2 separate regions of the Homo sapiens genome follow, and region 1 is linked to region 2. The links are contacts of gene promoters, found by promoter capture Hi-C in human tissues and cell types (Jung and others, 2019). All regions are on one chromosome and are shown on one strand. Each heading gives the region's core, a stretch centred on a gene start or on the middle of the fragment in contact. The rest is flanking DNA. Distances are from core to core; before and after follow the strand shown.

Evidence for each region. The method cuts DNA at HindIII sites, captures the fragments that hold promoters and counts their contacts. A contact is called where the count stands out against the background at its distance.
Region 1: a contact is called between a fragment that was not itself captured here and the fragment with the promoter of GALNT15 in region 2, in 1 of the 25 tissues and cell types used here (H1 embryonic stem cells).

Annotation. Positions count from the first base shown.
Region 1 is chr3:17,784,234-17,787,038 of GRCh38, reverse strand. No RefSeq gene overlaps it. Among named protein-coding and RNA genes, the nearest start is that of TBC1D5, 43 kb to the right of the region's middle. The HindIII fragment of the contact is 3,894 bases long and covers 1-2,805 here.
Region 2 is chr3:16,173,214-16,175,937 of GRCh38, reverse strand. GALNT15 (polypeptide N-acetylgalactosaminyltransferase 15) reads right to left here and starts at 1,258. Exons shown (of 10, transcript NM_054110.5): 1 at 248-1,258. The coding sequence starts at 786. The HindIII fragment of the contact is 4,561 bases long and covers 283-2,724 here.

The DNA of each region.
Region 1 (2,805 bases), core at 144-2,643, 1.6 Mb before region 2:
AGCCAGACAAGGATACTACAAGAAAAAAAAAAATTACACACCAATATTCCTGATGAAAATAGACGTAAAAATGCTCAAAAAAAGACTAGCAAACTCAATTCAACACCACATTAAAAAAGTTCATATACTGATTACATGGCATTTATCCTTGGGATGCAGGGATGAGTCAACATACTGTCTTTGTCTGTGCCTCTATAACAGAATACCTGAGATCAGGTAATTTATAAAGAATGTGAATTTATTTTTCACAGTTCTGGAGGCTGAAAAGTCCAAGCTCAAAGTGCCAGCCTCTGGTTTCTGATAAGGGCCTTCTTACCGTATACTCTGGGGGGAAGAAAGCTGAGTCCTCATGTGGAGGAAGGCAGAAGGACAAAAGGGATGAATTCCCTCTGTCAAGTCCTTTTATAACCCCATTCTCCTAACCCAAACTCCTCTCCAAAGGCCCCACCTCCCAGCACTGGTGCACTGGGGATTAAGTTTCCAATATTCGCATTTTCAGGGACACATTTAGATCATAGTACATACGCACATGAATAAGTGTGATATACCACATTAACAGAATGAAGGACAAAATCATACGATCATCACAACAGATGCAGAAAAAGCATTAGTAAATTCAATATCTTTTCATAAAACTTTTAACAGGCCAGGTATGGTGGCTCATGCCTGTAATCTCAGTGTTTTGAGAGGACAATGCGGGAGGATTGTTTGAACCCAAGAGTTTGAGACCAGCCTGAGCAATATAAACAGACCTTGCCTCTAACCAAAAAAAAAAAAAAAAAAAAAAAAGAAAGAAATTAAGAAAACAATGCCACTTACAATAGCACCCAAAAAAATAAATAAATAAAATACTTAGGCATAAAATTAACCAAGGAGGTGAAAGTGTATACACTGAAAACTATAAAAGATTTGTTAAAGAAATTGAAGACACAAATAAATGTGAAGATATCTTGCATTCATGAATTGGAAGAATTTAATATTGTTAAAATGTCTATATGACCAAAAGCAACCTACAGATTAAATGCAACCCCTATTAAAATTCCAATGGCATTTTTCACAGAAATTTTTTTTTAATCTTAAAATGTATATGGAACTACAAAAGAGTCTGAATAGACAAAGCAATCTTGACCAAGAACAAAGCTGGAGGCATCACACTACCTGATTTCAAAATATGTTACAAAGCTATAGTAACCCAACATCATGCTACTGGCATATAAACAGACATACAGACCAATGGAACAGAGTAGAGAGCCCAGAAATAAAGCCACACACTTAGATTGGTCTTTGACAAAGGTGTCAAGAACACACAATGGGGAAAAGACAATCTCTTTAATAAATGGTTCTGGGGTCAGGCCTGGTGGCTGACACTGGTTATCCCAGCACTTTGGAAGGTTGAGGCAGGAGGATTGTTCAAACCTAGGAGTTTGGGGCTGCAGCGAGCCATGAGCATGCCCCTATACTCCAGCCTGGGTGAAAGAACAAGACTGTCTATAAAAAATAATTTTTAAAATTATGTTTGGAAAACTAGATATCTACACATAGAATAATGTAATTGAACCCTTATTTTACACTAAATTAAAAACTCAACTTGATATGGATTAAAAACTTAAAATCTGAAACAGAAAATCTACTAAAGAAATACATTTGAAATAAGCTTCTTGACATTGGTCTGGGCAATAATCTTTTGGCTATGACCCCAAAAGCACAGGCAACAACAGCAAAAATAACAAATGGTATTGCATCCAACTAAAAACCTTCTGCATAGCAAAGCAAACAATAGCAAAGAGACCACCTATAGAATGGGAAAAATATTTGCAAATCATATATCTGATATGGGGTTAATATCTGAAATATATAAAGAACTCAACTCAATAGCAAGAAAACAAATAACCAGATTTTTTAAACAGGCGACGGTTTTGAATAGATACATCTCAAAAGAAGACATAAGAATGGTCAAGAGATATATGAAAATATGTTCAGTATCACTAATCATCAGTGAAATGCAAATCAAAACCAGGATGAAATATCATCTCATACCTGTTAGAATGGCTATCATCAAAAAACAAAAGATAACAAATATTGGAGAGGATATGGAGAAAAGGGAACCCTTCCACAATGTTGCTGAGAATGTAAATTTATTCAGTCATTAAGGAAAACAGTTTGGAGAATCCTAAAAAATTAAAAGTAGAACTACCATATGATCTAGAAATCCTACTTCTGGCTGTACATACAAAGGAAATGAAATCAGTATCTCAAAGAGATAGATATCTGCACTTTTTTTTTTTTTTTTTTTGAGATGGAGTCTTGCTCTGTTGCCCAGGCTGGAATGCAGTGGTGCCATCTCGGCTCACTGCAAGCTCCACCTCCCGGGGTCACGCCATTTTCCTGCCTCAGCCTCTGGAGTAGCTGGGACTACAGGGGCCCACCACCATGCCCGGCTAATTTTTTTGTATTTTTAGTAGAGACAGGGTTTCACCGTCTTAGCCAGGATGCAGATATCTGCACTTTCATGTTCATAGTAGCCTTATTCACAATAGCTGAGATATAGAATCTACCATTGACCAATAAGTGGAAAAAGAAAATGCAGTATATATTTACAGTGGCATATTATTCAGCCTTAAAATAAGAAGGAAATCCTGTCATTCATGACAACCTGGTAAACTGGAGGACATTAGGCTAAGTGAAATAAGCCATGCACCAAAAGACAAATACTGCATGATCTCACTTACGTGTGGAATCTTAAAAAGTTGACCTCACAGGAGCAACGAATGATAATTTCCAGGGGCTGAAAGGGTTGGGGATATG
Region 2 (2,724 bases), core at 9-2,508:
CATACAGACCACTGGACCCCACCCAGAGTTTCTTGTTTGGCAGGTCTGGGATGGGGTCTGAGAATCTGCATTTCTGAGAACCCACCAGTGCCCAGGGGCTGCTGACGCTGCTGGCCCAGGTACTGCATCTTGAAAAGCACTTGCTCTAAGTCAGGAGAGGCAGGCTACGGAAAGTTTGCATTCCCGAGTTTGCTACCACCCGATCATGCCCTGGGATCAGGGAAGGGAAAACAAGGGCCTTACTTACAGTGGGTGCCGCACCTCGGGCAGAGCCCTCTGGAGGGGGATGCGGGCACTGAGTGCCTCCTGGAGGCCACGTGGGTCCAGGCTGAACGGGGTCAACTCCTCTTCTTCAGACACCTCCCCGTCCTCATCAGCCCCCCAGTCCCTCTTTGGGGCTTCCTTATCCTGCCTCCTTGGCTGCTTGATGAGGCGGTAGCTCCCACCTCTCCTGCCCTGGCTCTGGTTCCTTCTGGCCTGGGGTAAGGCCACGGCCACCAGCAGCTGATCCTCCCGCAGTGAGATAAAGGGTGGCAGGCCCTCCAGAGGGCTGTACTCTTCACCCTCATCCTCAGCTTCCAGTACCCAATCCTGGGATTCCCCAAAGTCCAGGCGGTACCTGGCTTCAGGGCTGTGCTTGCTGGCTTGGGCTGTGACAGTCTGGTGCAGGGTGTGGTGGGGAGGGTGCAACATCGCCACCATCATCAGGACGCATCCCAGCATCAGGAGCAGCAGGAGGAACTGGAGTCTGCATGGTCTGTGCCTGTATCGCTTCCTTAGGAGCATGTTGCTAGAACTTGCCAAATGCAACAGGTCATGTTCAAGTTAGCTTTCTCCCGCTCCAGGCTCCTTCAAGCTTGCAGCAGAACCTGGGTTGCTTGTTCCACCTGGAAGTTTTTCTGCCAGTCACTTAACCTGGTCCTGACATTTGCCAACAGCGTGTGCAAGACCTGCTTCCACTTACAATCAGAAAACCACAGGACCCAAGTTTCACCCCAAGTCCTCTCTGAGTGGATTTCTTTAATTGCCTTCTGAAAGCCCATTCACAGGGACTTCAAATTGAATTGCTTCCCTCCCTTTACCCCGGTTTTCTCCTTGGGAAAAAAATAATGATTCCATTCTGCTCAGGTGTTTCTTTCCCCCTTTGTATAAATAGGTTGCTATGAGGTGTCTGGGATGAGCTGGTGGGTTCTCAGTCAAGCAGGGCTGACAGCCGTCCCTCTTTGGACGCTTCCAGTCAGGTCAGATCAACAGATGTAAAGCCGGCAGGCAGTGCCTGGTTTCCTTTCACACATAGCTCCACTCAGCCGAGAGCCCTCTGCCAGACACAACCCAGAGCCAAGCGTGCGCGTCACTCCTGGTCCTAATGCCCTCACTGTTCCCAGGCTTTGCACAACTCGGTGTGGTCACTGCTAGAGCCAAATCAAAACAGGAATATCCCAAGAGTTCAGAAGGAAAGACTAATACCCTCTGATTCAGAAAGGCTGTGTGTGTGGCATAGCTGCAAGGAGCTGCAGCTGTCTGTTTGCAACCTCAGCCTCCCATGGGGGATCAGGCAAACTAGGTTGGACTCTCCTTCCCTTCCTGGGGACCACTGTCCCTGGCCTCCTGAAAATGAGGGAGCTAAGGGAGATGATCTTGCAAGTCCCTTCTTCTCCCACAAGAGCAGCTGAATGCCTGCTCTGCCCTGGCCACCAAGGGGGACGCTGGAAGAGGAGTGGCATGCTCTTTCCCTCATAAAGCTTCCTTCATTTAACCAACACATAATTAATGAACACATGCTATGTGCCAAAATTGTTCTGGGAACTGGAAGTAGAGCAATGAATAACACAGACAAAAATGTGTGTCTCATGGAGCTTGCATTCTAGTGACAGATACAATTAAAACTATCCACTGGGTCAGATAGTGATGAGGATGAAGGCAAAAAAGCAGAGCAGGGATGGGGCTGGGGAGCATGGGCTGGGCTTGGAAATGGACATTGAGTGGTGGAGAAAGGTTTCATGGAAGAGTTACCATTTGTGTAAAGGAGAGGGCTGCACAGCTATTTGAGGTTGAGTGTTCGGGGCAGACAGAATGATAAATGTGAAGGTTCCAAGGCAAGAGTATGCTGGCATGTCTGAGGAACAGCCGGCATGGCTGAAGCAAAGAGAGCAGGGTGGAGCCTGATGGGAAGTGGAATAAGAGAGGCAAGGGGGCGGGGGGCAGGAGGACCATGCAGGACACCCCCTGGTTGCATTGAAGGAACTTTGGCTTTTCCTCTGAGTGAGAGGGGAGCCCTTAGAGGAGAGACACAATCTGACTTGGGTTTTAACTGGATCATTCTGGCTGCTGGGTTGAGACTAATCAGTGGGGGGCAAAAAGCAGGAGCAGGGAGACCAACCAAGAGGTTCTTGGCTTGCACTAAGTGGCATCGGTGGTGACAGGGGTCAGCTTGTGGATATACTTTAAGGAAGAACCTATAGGATTTGCTGATGAATTAATGACTAATGTGAGAGGAAGAGAAGAGTCAAGATGAGTTCAAATTTTTGTTCTGAGTAGTTGGAAGAATAGACTTGCCATTAACCAAGATGGGGAAGGAGAGAAGGTGGAAGGAGATGAATGCATGCCAGTGGCTTGATTTGGAACATGTGACATTCGAGATGTCCTCTAGACAGCTAAGAGGAGATGAAGTGAAGGCAGCAGTTGTAGGATAGCTGAAGGTCAGGGGGAGGTCTGGCCTGCATA